Regions from separate parts of the Homo sapiens genome. Here regions 1, 3, 4 and 5 are each linked to region 2. The links are contacts of gene promoters, found by promoter capture Hi-C in blood cells and fetal thymus (Javierre and others, 2016). All regions are on one chromosome and are shown on one strand. The core of a region is centred on a gene start or on the middle of the fragment in contact, and the rest is flanking DNA. Distances in the headings are between cores, read along the strand shown.

Region 1 (2,884 bases), core at 260-2,759, 230 kb after region 2:
CTTTTTTTTTTTTTTAATAATCTACAAAACTTTTGTCTCGAGGGCCAGCTAGTATTTAAGTTATTTTTAAAATTATATAAAAAGACTACATAACTGCATAAAATTTTAGAAATTTGTCAAGTCAAACCTTTTTACTTAAAAGGCAAACAATAGACTGGAAACTATATTTACAATACATATCAAGAGATTTTTTTAACCGTAAGGAACTTTTTCTTATTAATAAGATTAAGACCAAGAACTCAGTAGTCAAGGAGACTAAGTAGGAACAAGCAATTTTTTTAGAAAAATACAATACTTTTAAACAATCTGAAAAGATGTTCAATTTCTCAGTAATCAGGGAAATATAAATTAATTCAAGATACCATCTAACACATCAGAGTGGCAAAAATTAAAATACCTTGTGAAAAGTGTTGATAAGGATACATAAAATGGGAATTATACTATTTGCAGAAGTATAAAAAGCTATGTCTCCTTTGGAGAGCAATTTGGCAAAATCTACAAGGTTATAATGTGTATATTCTGTCCCAGCAGTGCCATTTGCAGTTATATAAAACTCTTTTATATTTGCTTATGGAGTCAAGAATATTCATTGCAGTACTTATTTGGATTATTGAAAAACTGTTCGGAGACTGGGCGTGGTGGCTCATGCCTGTACTCTTGACACTTTGGAAGGCTGAGGTGGGAGGATTGCTTGAGCCCAGGAGTTGGAGACCAACACTGACAATATAGTGAGACCCTGTCTCTACAAAAAAATTAAAAGTAGCCAGGCACAGTGTTGTGCATCTGTAGTCCTAGCGACTCAGGAGGCTGAGGTGGGAGAATTGCTTGAGCCCAGGAGGTCAAGGCTGCAGTGATCTATGATCTCATCACTGCACTGCAGCCTGGGCAACAGAGCAATACCCTGTCTCAAAAAAGAAAAGAAAAGAAAAGAAAAGAAAAATTGATTGGAAATGTCCATCAATAGGGATTAAATTAAGGTACATTTATCTGGTAGAGAACCATGTAACTATTAAAAATGAGATTGTAGGCTGAACGTGGTGGCTCACACCTGTAATCTCAGCACTTTGGGAGGCTGAGATGGTGGCACATGCCTGTAATCCCAGCTACTTGGGAGGCTGAGGCAGGAGAATCGCTTGAACCTGGGAGGCGGAGGTTGCAGTGAGCCAAGATCGTGCCACTGCATTCCAGCCTGGGTGACAGAGCGAGACTCCATCTCAAACAAAAATAAAATAAATAAAAATGAGATTATAGCTGTATGTACTAATTTTTAAAATAGGTTAGCTGAAGAAAACCAGGAGTAGAATAGTGTATATAGTGTATTACCACGAAAATAAAGGAAAAAAGAGGATCTACATATATCCGTGTGTGTGCCTCTGTATGAATAAACTCTCTAGAAGAGCATACAAGCTTAGGTGGTTGCCTCTTAGAAGGGGAATTAGAAGGAGAGAGATTTCACTGTATACCTTTTGCAGTGTTTGAATTTTTTCATTACTCCACATGAAATGAATAAATTTCAGTGCATGTATATGTATATATATATTTATATATATATGGATGGATAGTAAAATGGTGAAATATTTCATTCACGTAAACATTTGTGATTAAGCTTAAAACAATTAGGATCTTCAAAACAAGTCCTTTTCATTTGAACTGTATAAATATGTTCCAAAATTTTATAGTAGTATTTTTTTTTTCATAGCATTTGATTTTATTTGTACGAAATGGATGAAATCCTTGCTATCTCTTAGGGTGGGATCTGCTTTTTCAACTCTGATTTCTAGTGCCTGGCATCTAGTTAGAGCTCAATAAATTTTTATTATACTGAATTATCCTTCATTTTCCTAACTAAGCATCTTTTATCAAGACATAATCATTCCTTTCAGTTCCCGGATTAGCATTAATTACTGGCATTTGCCATACATTGCATTTTTCTATTCCAAATTAGTATTAATGATTTTATGAAGAAGTAGCTGTCCCAAATAAATAAATTTCTTCTTTGTATTTTTAATCATTGAGATTATATCATTATGTTATCACTGAGAAGTAATTTAATTCTATTATATATGCAGACTTTCTAAAGAAGATAAAGCTTTTTTATGGGAGAAACGTTATTATTGCTTCAAACACCCAAATTGTCTTCCTAAAATATTAGCAAGCGCCCCAAACTGGAAATGGGTTAATCTTGCCAAAACTTACTCATTGCTTCACCAGTGGCCTGCATTGTACCCACTAATTGCATTGGAACTTCTTGATTCAAAGTAAGTCAAATACATTTATTTGCTCTTGTTTTATTGTCAGTTTTTCCAGTAAGGTATGTTGCCAGAAGTATTTCCTTTCCTTTTAACATGAAAGCAATTCAATATAATCCAAATGTGTAAATGTATATTTATACAAACATATCTTCTGCATTGAAGTTGTCAATAAAGCATTGCATGTCCTTTAAAACTAGCCTAAAGGAAGGGTTAGGTTGTAAATTTTGAATAATTTATATTTTTATGATGTGGGCCAGAATTAATTTTCATAAACTTAAGATTCCTAAATAATCCCTAAATTGAATCTGTATAGCACAATAAGATTGTCTTCTTACAAAAAGAAGAAATACATTGCTTTTGAATAAAAGAGATATCTTAGTGTTCTTTGTCAGGACCAGATTGAGATTGTGTTTTCAAAAAATACAGCTTCACTGGAAAGAAATCACTGTCCAATCTTGGTTTTATGGTAATCTTCTAGATTTGCTGATCAGGAAGTAAGATCCCTAGCTGTGACCTGGATTGAGGCCATTAGTGATGATGAGCTAACAGATCTTCTTCCACAGTTTGTACAAGTGAGTTTTTTACTAGATTACCTCCCTTTATACTTTCACTCTAGTTTTTTATGGGAACTT
Region 2 (2,700 bases), core at 149-2,648:
TTCTCAAACTGTGGAAATGGTATTGCATTGTATGTCCACTGTTTACTTGGCTCTACGCCTTCAACATCCGTTCACGCTGCTCGGCAAGCAGCAAGGGCGTGGTGTGAAGCTGCCGCCAAGGTCTCCACGGTGAGGTCCACACGCGGCTCTCCTCCACCTGCAGTGACTCGGGGCGCCCAGAGCGCGCCTCCGGGATTCCTACATTCCACCTCCACCACCCGGCACCCAGGAGCGTATTTTGGCCAGCCTAGTAAGGGTCAAGCAGCATCTTGTTGTTTAATTGCCATTCTTCTAGTTAGAAATGAGTTTAAATATCTCTACATACGCGTTTCAGCCTTTTAGTCTCCTGTTTAAGTTAACGCAGAACACGCCCATACGAGTTCCCAAAAAAGCAAGAGAACGTTTGAAGGTCACCACAAGATCAAAACACTCCCCTCCCTCTCTCAGTAAAGACCTAACTTAGCAAAGCCAGGAGGACCCACTGATATGCGGATGAATGATTTTTCCAATTTACCGATTCCCTGATTTTCTTCTCTCCTCCGGCCCCTCGGATGATGCGAGAGAGGCGCCAAATACCGAGGCACCAAACGCGCGACATCCAAGGAAGCACCGTTTCCGCTCTCACAGGTGTCGACCCTGCACAGGGCAGGCCTTCAATGTAAACCTGTTGCATCGGGGACTCCGCTTCTCACAAAGGAGGGACGCTTGAAAATAGAGCCCCCAGGCCGGGCGCGGGGGCTCACGCCTGTAATCCCCGCACTTTGGGAGGCCGAGGCGGCTGGATCACTAGGTCAAGGAGACCATCTTGGCTAACACTGTGAAACCCCGTCTCTACTAAAAGTACAAAAAATTAGCCGGGCATGGTGGCGGGCGCCTGTGGTCCCAGCTACTCGGGAGTCTGAGGCAGGAGAATGGCGTGAACCTGGGAGGCGGAGCTTGCAGTGAGCCGAGATCGCGCCACTTCACTCCAGCCTGGGAGACAGAGCGAGACTCCGTCTCAAAAAAAAAAAAAAAAAAAAAGGAGAAGAAATAGAAAAGAAAATAGAGCTCTCAGCCCCCAGGAAGTTGAGGTCCCCTGGCGGGATGCTAGGGAGCCGACCCGCGAGGACCCTCTGGCGCCAGGAGCCCCCGCCCCAGCCCACCCCAGCCGCCCCCTACCTTCGGTCGTCAGCGCCCACAGCAGAATCAGGAGCGCCGCGCACGTGGAGGCGGCAGCCCTCCACGTCATCGCCGCGGCTGCTGTTGTGTAATTTTTTTCGCCGAGTGGGAGCAGGCGGCCCGGTAGAAACCAAGGGCAGGGGGAGACCTCTGTTGCGTAAAGAGTTGACGGAGACACAGCCGGGATTTCCAGCCGGCGCTTTTGCACATCCCACTTCTTCAGATCCCTTCGGCAACTGCGAAGTCGCCTGGATTTCCCAGGTTCGCACTGCAGGAAGCCAGGCGCGTGACCAGCCCCACCCGCGCCGCACTTTAGCCCGGGGGCGGGCACCGGCCGGGGAATCCTCCCTCGCCTCCGCCCGCGGCACGAGGTTGCGCGGTTACAGCCCCGGTGCCTCTCGCGAGCGGCTCTGCGGTCCAGGACTCGGGGCATCCTCTGGGTTCGCTTAGTAAATTGAGACCGGGATCCAAGTGGCCCGGGGCGCTGCTCTAAGGAAGATGCTGACCGCAGTCGGTGATTGCGAGAGCAGGTGCACGCGTCCAGAGCGACATCTTACCGTTGGCGCGATAAACTTACATTACTTTAAAAACCAAAAACAACAAAAATTTAGCATTAAGTCGAAAGGCAAATTAAATCCCCAGGACAATTCAGTTAAACGCCTGAAGGTGGCCCTTAATTTCCCATTTCTACTAATCAAGAAGTGGCTTGCGACCTCCTGAAGCAAACCCAAATATTCTCATTCGGTGATTAAGTTTTACCACCTCTACACCAGTTTTTAAATCAATTTAACCGCAAAGTTCAGAACCCAAGTGGCACAGTAAATGTGTGTGCATTTATAACGCAGAACCTGCATTCTTTCCCCAGCAACCTGCATTCCATTTGTCTCATTGACCCTACTGCATTTTTCCTTCGCATCATTAAAAAGGATGTAATGTACAGAAAAGCACAGACAGACCTAAACTCCAATGCCAACCATGCCATCTGCTGATTATAAGACAGTGGGTAAGTGACCTCATATCCCCAGCCTGTTCACATGTCTCTAAAACTGAGAGAGTAAAAGCTTCCTTTCCAGGGTTAGAGACACTGTCACTGACTAAGCAAATAGTCACATTCTCACTTATCTGCAGAACAGAGTGCATACAGAAAGAGCTCAGAAGTGAAAGATGCGCAGAGTGCCCACAGTGGCAGCAACTAGCTGAGGGGCCTTCAGATCGCAGCCTTCCGGACCACCGTTATAACAGGTAGAGATATGCAAGGTTAAGTCCAGCTATTGAATTTTTAAAACCTAAATTACACCTCTTCTCAACCTCTGCCTCCTCCAAGGAGCCTTACCTGAGGAGACATCCTTGTCTGGTATTAGTGACATCATTAAATAACATTCCCAATGGAGGTATATGACGACTTCTTATACATGCCCAGAATAGTGATTCACAAAGTTGTGACACATACACATCACCCTGTAGAAATTATCAAATTACTCTTTTGGTAATTTTTACTGTTTTGGTAATTTTTTTGTACCCTTTTTACTCTAAAGGGTAAAA
Region 3 (2,855 bases), core at 7-2,506, 180 kb after region 2:
CTGACCTCGTGATCCGCCCGCCTCGGCCTCCCAAAGTGCTGGGATTACAGGCGTGAGCCACCGCGCCCGGCCGCTGTTTTGTTTTAATACATCTAATTTTGTGAAAAATAGGCAGTATACTTTGGTGTTCCACAATAGGTGATTACACTTGATTTATTTTTCCTACCATATATCCATACTCTTGTGCCATTAGAAATGCCTTCTTTAAGACTGTCCAATAGCCCTCACTCCCTCTTGTTAAAACACATGTTCAGCCAGGTGAGGTGGTTCACGCCTGTAATCCCAGCACTTTGGGAGGCCGAGGCAGGTGGATCACTTGAGGTCAGGAGTTCAAGACCAGCCTGGCCAACATGGCAAAACGCTATTAGTCTCTACTAAACTTTTTGGTCTCTACTAAAAATACAAAAATTAGCCGGGTGTGGTGGCGAGCGCCTGTAATCCCAGCTACTCGGGAGGCTGAGGCAGGAGAATCGCTTGAACCCAGGAGGCAGAGGTTGCAGTGAGCCGAGACTGTGCCACTGCACTCCAGTCTGAGCAACAGAATGAGACTCTGTCTAAACAAACAAACAAACAAACAAACCCCACGTGTTCAGTAAATTAAGTTTCTTATTCATTAAGCAAGGTACTTTTAAATGTTGTGGGGAACTCCAAAAATAAACAAGTAGGCCTTTGCACTTAAGCTTATTTTAGTCTGTTGGGTAGACACATAGGTTCACAGATTCTGTGTTAATCAGGACATTTTTTGTTATGGCAGAAACTCATTTTAAACTGGCTTAAGCAAAAAGGGAGACTTACTGGCCTGCATAAATGAAAGGTTGGCTTTGGGCTTAGTTGGATCCAGATGCCAGTGTAATATTAGCCAGAATCTGTCTTTCTTCGTTTTATCTTAGCTCTGCTTTCTTCTGGATTGGATTCATTTTTAGGCATTATCTCCTCAAGTGGTGACAAAGACGGCCACAGCAGGGCCAGGCTTATATCTGAGTTTAGTAAGCTCAAAGAAAAGCTTTCTTTCCAAATAGTTTCAGCAGAAGTCCAGGAGTTAACTCTGATGGGCCATATTTGGATCCTCTGGAGTGGATGGGAATGGGGGACAAGGGTAGAAATGGCCAGTTCTATTTTAATTAACTATGTGGGATAAAGGGAGATCAGTCTCCAAAATGGAAGCCGTAGGTTCTGCAACCAGAAGCAAAGATGTTGATAGGCAAAAACAGCAAAAGGTCTACAGAAGTGAAGAAGAGAAAGCTGTGATAAAAATGTTTTGGTTGATCTAAAAAGATGAATTCTGATAAGAGCTGCTTAGGGAAGGCTAAAGAGAGGAGACAGTATTTGAATTGGGCCCTGAAGGACAAGTAGAGTTTTTCCAAGGCAGAATGTGTAAAGAAAAGATTCTGTAGGTCCCTCATTGGAGAAGTTTGACAGTGAAAAAAGAAAATTAAAATGGAAGCTACTGGAATCTAAACGGGAATGTTAAGATTTCCCCCCCTTCAATATGGAGAAGACTTAAGCTTTTTTGTGGCACAGGACCCTAAGCAAGTAAATAAGTTAACAATGCAAAGGAGGTAATCACCGATGATGAAGTGGAGGGTAATCATTGATGATGAAGTGGAGGGGAAAATACATTTATGTTTAGAAATCTAAGGTTAAGGATACACATGGAGGAAGTCGCCTTAGAAAGGAAAAGAAAACCGTTTGTTCCCTGAGGATAAGTGAAGGAAGGTGGTGGTGGAAGTTAAAACAGAAGTTTGTTGCTAAATAGTAAAAATGGCTTGCGCTTTGTTTTCTAAAACTAATAAGAAAAAGTTTATCAGTTATCTATTGCTATGTAACAGAATCATTCCAAAATGATTCTGTGGGTTATCAATTTGGCTTTAGCTCAGCTTGGTGATTTCTTCTGCTGGTCTCACCTTCAGTCACTCATGGAGTTGTGGTCATCTGGAGTGTGGATGGATGGTCTAAGATGGTGGCTTCACTCACATGTTTGGTGGTTGGTGCTGGCTGTTAGCTGGCCCCTCTCATCCTCAGTGAGCATTCACATAGCAGTGGCTGCATTTCAAGAGACAAAGAACTGAGGTAGTAAAGCCTCTTAGGACCTAGATTTGGAACTCCTATTCCCACAGTGTCACTTCCATTTCATTGGTAAAAGCCAAGTCATAAGGCCCGCTTAGCTCAAGAGAGTAAAGAAATAGATCCCTCCTCTTTATGAGAGGAACAAGAAAATCACATCCCAAGTAGTGGGAGTATGTGTTGAAATGGGAGGAATTTGTGCTCCTCCTATTCCCTACTATCCAGCCTTTTATTTTGAAAATTTTCAGTCTTGGCAACCAAGTTAAAAGAATTTCAAAGTGAATACTCATATTTGTATCACCTAGATTCTACTATTAACATTTTTCTATACCTGTCTAATCACATATTTATCCATCTATCCTGCTATCCATTAGTTTACCTTTTAAAAAAAATGCATTTCAAAGTAAATTGTAAGAGCCAGGCACAGTGGATCATGCCTGTAATCCCAGCTGAGGCAGGAGGCTTGCTTGAGGCCAGGAGTTCAAGACCAGCCTGGGTAACATAATGAGACCTCCCCCATCTCTAAACGACAAGAACAACAAAGTAAATTGTAGACATTAGTACTTTCCTCTAAGTGCTTTGTGCATATGTAGCAAGAGTTCCATATTTACAGCTTTTTCTTTTGATATAAAGTTTACATACAGTAAAGTGTGTATATTTTAAATATACATTGTGCCCATGCTTTGTAGTCTACCACAGAAGGGAAAATAGTTGTATGAAGGAATTGCAAAATAATACACTAAGAACATTCCAAGGACATTCTTTGAATTCCTCTTTCTTCATGACCTCCT
Region 4 (2,700 bases), core at 38-2,537, 200 kb after region 2:
ATTTCTGGCTGATTAGAAGAGTCCCAAATGGGCTTGATCTCTTCATATTCTTAAAACAGAGAGTCCTTTAATTTCATTTAGTTGTAAAATTTCTAAAGTGTCTATTTTAGGAATATTTTGAATGGAAAGGTCTTTAGCATTCCATTCTTACTGACCGGTATAGCCTGTTTCTACTATTGAGCAAGTAAAACCAAGGAACGAAAATAAGGCTTAGTTGACATTACTTTTACAAAGATAGAAATATATAATTTAAAAATTTGTTATTGATATGATTTATTTTACCTCCATTGCTTTGTACATATTTTCATAAAAATGTGTTTGTGCTGTGCTGCTATGTAGCATTTTGTGGATCTTCCACTTTTAAAATAAAAACACTTTTTTAATTACAGAAAGACCCAAATGGGACCAGTAGTTTGCCAACTGGAAGTTCTCTTCTTCAAGAAGTTGAAGTACAGAATGAGGAGATGGCAGCTTTTTGTCGATCCATTACAAAGTAAGGAATTTTTCTTTATAAATGTTCATTTGAAAAATTCACTTGAAAACCAGTTTAGTGCTAATAATTCTAAAATTTTAAAAATTTTAATTATTTTCTTCTTGTGGCTAACATTTCAAGTCAAAGAGTTAATTGGCACGTTATCACAAACCACAGTTGAACTTGTATCTTCACCTGTTAGATTTCTTAATATTTGGAAGAAAAAATTGAGGTCAGACAGTAGACTTCTGATACTGTAATAACCAGTGAAAAATATGACTTACCTGTAAGCTTCAGTACACTTAAAAAATACCTACTTTTGTTTTAGAGAGACTTAATTTTGCTGTAAACTTTCTAGCATTCAAAATACTGTTCAACATATTTAAGAGATGATATTATAATAGGCAAGTTTAGAAGAGCAAATATATTTTCTGAAGTTTAGAAAAACACATTTATAGAATGTTCTCTCAATCTTAAATGTGTCTAACATTCATTATAGGTGAGGAAACTGAGACTCAGAGAAGTAACCTAACAAACTTTACTTGGCTAGTCAGTAATATCAGTAGTAGAACCAACTCTCTTTTGCTTCTGGTTAAGCATGTTTTCTTCCCATTATATCACTATATTAGTTGTGACTTCTGTTACGAGTGCTAGAAACCCATCTTGAACTTAAAAAGGGTCATGTATTGGTTCACAACCCAAATAGCAGATAGAGGAAGGATGGGATAGAGTTCATTAACAGCAAGATTCAGGAATTCATTACTATAAATCATCCCCCCTTCCTTCAATTCTCCTTGTCCACTCCATTTCCTTTCCTTCACCTTCCTCACTTTTCTTCCTCTGCCTTTCCTCCATGCAATTTAATGGTCTCAGTAGCAGAGAAGAAAAAGGAGTCCCCTTAGCTAGCCAGATAGGAAACACCCATAGGAGGAAAGAGTGGAACAACAGTCCTTGTGGCCAAGAGGATGAGAGATCTGTTATCTAAAAAAGGGAAGTAGATCACCACTGGGAGATTTTTTTCTGAATCCAGCATTGTCTTCAGTGTGGTCTGCTTTAAGCATAGCAGGATTTGGGGTTCCCAGAACATTTTTGAGTATGTACATTATTTTAATGTTAAAGAACTTAATATTTAATGAGATTTTCTGGACCATTGGTGATATTTTATTAAAACTCTGTCTTCCTTTATGTTACCTTTTAACCAGCATTTCTTTTCTTCAGAATACCTTAGGAAAAAAATATTATCAGTAGAGTCACTTTTTCTTGGCAAAGGTTACTCTCCCCAGACAGGCCTTGTATTTTCCTGTTAGGCCATGTTAAGTAACTACTACATTTAAGCTTTGCAAGTTGAGAAGTTAGGCTCTCTGAGACCTACCTTTTTTCTCCCATTTGAATCTTAGAGCTATTTATACAAACTCTGCCACTAATTGAAAATGATTGTTTTTGTTTACACACACACACACACGCACACACTTAAATGTGATACGAAACTGCAAATGGACTAAAGAGAGAATGAGTTCTCTTTGTAATTTTATTTTCATTAGTAGACTATGACTGCAACAAATACTAGAGCAGTAAGAAGTACTGGTGTTTTTGAAGGCATGTTCTAGGAACTTCCCCTGTGGTGACCATGGAGATTGAGATGAGGAGATGTACTTTGAAATTAGTGGCTCTGTTTTTTCCATTGTGCTCATTTTGCAGTGGATTTTTAAAACAAGTATGTAGGCTTTTAATTAGAGAGCCAGTTCTTTGCTTTTTGAGATCTCCTAAAATTATTCATTTATTCATTTAAATTCAGCTGTGAAATTAGTGTCAGGCTGTCAGAATGATATTTGTTTATAGTTAAGATAAAATACAAAACAGACTTGGAATTTATTACCAGTTCTAGGTATTGGTTTTTGTTGTTGTTTCTCATCTGTGAAATTAAAGAGTTGGACTAGTGATTTCAAAGATCTCTTTCAGTTTAAGATTCTGTAATACATTGATTCAGGACTACTTTTCATTATTACTGAGTTTTTTGTCCTATTTCTTTCCTTTTACACCTATCATAATTGACAAAGCTTGCTATATCTACTAGTTACAGGTGCTGAAAAGGTTCTTTTTTTTTTTTTTTGAAATGGAGTTTTCACTCTTGTTGCCCAGGGTGGAATGCAGTGGTGCGATCTCAGTTCACTGCAACCTTTGCCTTCCAGGTTCAAGCGATTCTCCTGCCTCAGCCTCCTTAGTAGCTA
Region 5 (2,700 bases), core at 34-2,533, 160 kb before region 2:
TGAGCTAAATTGGATGTTATCACTTGACCAGCGCTTTCTGGCAAGATGTCAGTCCCCCAGAAACCAGAGCACTGGCAGCTGAGTGACCTTGATGATATATAATTCTCCCTGCCTGTAAAATGGGAATATTAACTGTGCCAGGAAAATCTACCCCCTTCCTCCAGCACATTGCTATTAAAATAACAAACAGTAATATTTTTCCTGACAGAGGTTAATGCCTTTATCTAGGAACATCTATCAGGATTTGTATAGCATTGAATAAACTTGGAACAGAGTTCCTCTGGGAATTCCTTCACACATTGTCCTGGTCTCAGAAAGGCCTTGGTCTCATAAGACTATCTGTTTCCCTTGACAGGCTGACTTTGGTGGCTTAGGATGCCTCATTGGGTTAGATTTCTAATTCTTCTCTATATTCTGCCTCTACTAGAACTCAGCTAGAGAGGACAAAACACACACACACACACACAAGCACACACACACATGCACACATAGGATTTTACTTGAAAAAAATAATAAAGGAGACAGATATGTCAAATCTTTTTCAGGCACTAATAACATGTAAATGTAAAAGAACTAGAATCTTCTCCACATACCACCTCCCATCAGAAATCATGTCCTTGAAAGTGCTGTTGATAAAGAAATAGGGTTGCCTTTCCCCTATTCCTTAATCTAATTATTCCAGAAACAGCTGTCATTTTGGTTTTCATTTTCACTTCAAAAAAAAAAAAAAAAAAAGAATTGCTTCTGGGTAGAATCAATAGCACAATCGCCCCATCTGCCTCACCTCTCAGTCTGGACCAAAAGGAATATTGTAACTGACAGGCCATGGATGTAACTGACAGCTGAAAGGACAACAGAACCATGCCCCTCATACTGGCTCTGAAAACCCGTCATCATTTTTTCTAGAGCCGTGAGAGACTCTTTGTCTCCCAGCAGCTGGAACGCCAAGTCTCCAGGAAATGCAAGTGGGTATCCATGGCCATGATATCTGTGCATAAATTCCCCTTATTTAAAAATATAAAGATTCAGCTCATGTCTATAATGCCAGCACTGTGGGAGGCCAAGACAGGCGAATCACGTGAGGTTGGGAGTTCAAGACCAGCCTGGCCAACAGGGTGAAACCCTGTCTCTATTAAAAATTCAAAAATTAGCTGGGTGTGGTGGCGCATGCCTGTAATCCCAGCTACTTGGGAGGCTGAGGCAGGAGAATCACTTGAACCCTAGAGGCAGAGGCTGCAGTGAGCCGAGATTGCACCACTGCACTCCAGCCTGGGTGACAGAGCAGGACCCTGTCTCAAGAAAATAATAATAATAATATAAAGATTCAGTGTCTTCTATTTCCACCTTGGCAGTAAATCCCTCTGGGGCTCAAGGTTCCCAGGCCTTTGGCCCCACAGAATTTGTGCCAGGGCATGAAGGATTCATGATTCTGACTAAGCCCTTTCATCAGAATTGCTTGAGTCACTCACACAGACCAGCCCTACTTGCAGGAGCCCACCGTCTGGCAGGGAAGGCAGATTCACACACAGCTAAGTAACCTGTGTGGGGCCAGTCTGAGATCAGTGGGAAATGCCATGGGGCAACTTGCCCTCTGCATCTGTACAGATATGACTTTCTTGGGCATGAGACAGAAACTGTCTACTACCCCACCCAGAAGCCCTGACTCTATAATCTTAGCACTGGTAGTTTTTTTTTTCTTTCTTTCTTTCTTTTTTTAAGCAACAGAATGGCCATTATTCTCGTGGTGGTCCTGGAGGAGGCCAGGCTCTTACTCTAGCAAGCTACCATTAGGCAGTGTTTCTGGCTCCTCTTGGGAAATTGCTGTCTGAATCTCTACTACGATGGCAGGGATTCATCTATCAACTGAGTCTAGTGAACAAGGTAGGCAAGGAACCAAGCAGGACTCTGAAGCAGTGAGAACCATTTTCTCGAGAGGCTCATACACTGCTCTGGAGGTGGGTCCCAGAGGTGACCATTTCCAGAGCACATTAGCAGTACACAGAGGTGTGTGTCTTTAGGAGAGGAGCTAGGAAGAGTCCCTCAGAGGTCCATAATGGCCCACCAAGTCCCTCCAGCTGTGGATGAATGTTGTGTGTCCATTGCTAGGGAGCTCAATTCCTTATTCCTGGCCTTGGATACTAAGATGATTCAGAAAATTCAAGAGCAGATCCCCAGAAGGCTTGTTGGGGGCGGGGGTGAGCTCAGTGAACAGGGGGTTTCCTCCTTGCCCCAGAAATTGCCCAGGGTGTGGGCTGTCTCTGCTGCCCCTCTCCTGAATGCTCGCTCTGTCCTCCACGCTGTGTGTGATAGGGGCTGACCCTCCCTCCTGCCGTGTTTCCCTTGCCCCCAGCTCATCAGGGCACCATAGAAAAACTAGGACCTCGAAGACTCAGGTCCAAATCCTGGTACTATCAGTTACAAGATGTCTGACATTGAACAAGGGACTTTACCTCTCTGAGCCTCAGCTCCTTCATCAAAGAATGAGGATAAACCTACATAGGAGATCATTGGTATAAATCCCTTGGCACATAGGCAGTTCATAAATGATCATTCTCTTCCTGCCTTAGCCCCTGGCTTCCCTGCAACCCCATGAGAGAAGCAGCCAGGAATGCAGGCTCGGTGGGTCTAATTCCTACAGGAAAAATAAGGAGTCTATTTGCCTTTCATGTCCCTCCCCAAATCCTCTAGAACCCTGATGGT

What was found. Contacts are between HindIII fragments. The CHiCAGO score rates a contact against its expected background, and 5 or more counts as called.
Region 1: a fragment that was not itself captured here is called in contact with the fragment with the promoter of NCR3LG1 in region 2 in 1 of 17 cell types (naive CD4 T cells); the score reaches 5.3 in naive CD4 T cells.
Region 3: a fragment that was not itself captured here is called in contact with the fragment with the promoter of NCR3LG1 in region 2 in 1 of 17 cell types (naive CD8 T cells); the score reaches 5.6 in naive CD8 T cells.
Region 4: a contact is called between a fragment that was not itself captured here and the fragment with the promoter of NCR3LG1 in region 2, in 1 of 17 cell types (total CD8 T cells). The highest score is 6.8, in total CD8 T cells.
Region 5: a contact is called between a fragment that was not itself captured here and the fragment with the promoter of NCR3LG1 in region 2, in 1 of 17 cell types (M2 macrophages). The highest score is 5.7, in M2 macrophages.

The regions. Positions count from the first base shown.
Region 1 is chr11:17,119,160-17,122,043 of GRCh38, reverse strand. It overlaps PIK3C2A (phosphatidylinositol-4-phosphate 3-kinase catalytic subunit type 2 alpha), which reads left to right. Exons shown (of 33, transcript NM_002645.4): 16 at 2,070-2,258; 17 at 2,731-2,824. Among named protein-coding and RNA genes, the nearest start is that of RPS13, 43 kb to the right of the region's middle. The HindIII fragment of the contact is 199 bases long and covers 1,410-1,608 here.
Region 2 is chr11:17,350,498-17,353,197 of GRCh38, reverse strand. It overlaps NCR3LG1 (natural killer cell cytotoxicity receptor 3 ligand 1), which reads right to left and starts at 1,398. Exons shown (of 5, transcript NM_001202439.3): 1 at 1,159-1,398. The coding sequence starts at 1,228. It overlaps LOC105376576 (a long non-coding RNA gene), which reads left to right and starts at 1,332. Exons shown (of 3, transcript XR_931094.3): 1 at 1,332-1,419; 2 at 2,024-2,161; 3 at 2,287-2,385. RefSeq lists enhancers at 1-32, 257-858, 859-1,460 and a silencer at 1,457-1,576. The HindIII fragment of the contact is 2,891 bases long and covers 1-2,221 here.
Region 3 is chr11:17,171,523-17,174,377 of GRCh38, reverse strand. The region is part of intron 1 of PIK3C2A (phosphatidylinositol-4-phosphate 3-kinase catalytic subunit type 2 alpha); the gene reads left to right. Among named protein-coding and RNA genes, the nearest start is that of PIK3C2A, 35 kb to the left of the region's middle. The HindIII fragment of the contact is 502 bases long and covers 1,006-1,507 here.
Region 4 is chr11:17,153,319-17,156,018 of GRCh38, reverse strand. PIK3C2A (phosphatidylinositol-4-phosphate 3-kinase catalytic subunit type 2 alpha) reads left to right here. Exons shown (of 33, transcript NM_002645.4): 3 at 390-493. Among named protein-coding and RNA genes, the nearest start is that of PIK3C2A, 53 kb to the left of the region's middle. The HindIII fragment of the contact is 1,044 bases long and covers 766-1,809 here.
Region 5 is chr11:17,512,833-17,515,532 of GRCh38, reverse strand. The region is part of intron 15 of USH1C (USH1 protein network component harmonin); the gene reads left to right. Among named protein-coding and RNA genes, the nearest start is that of USH1C, 30 kb to the left of the region's middle. The HindIII fragment of the contact is 3,309 bases long and covers 1-2,700 here.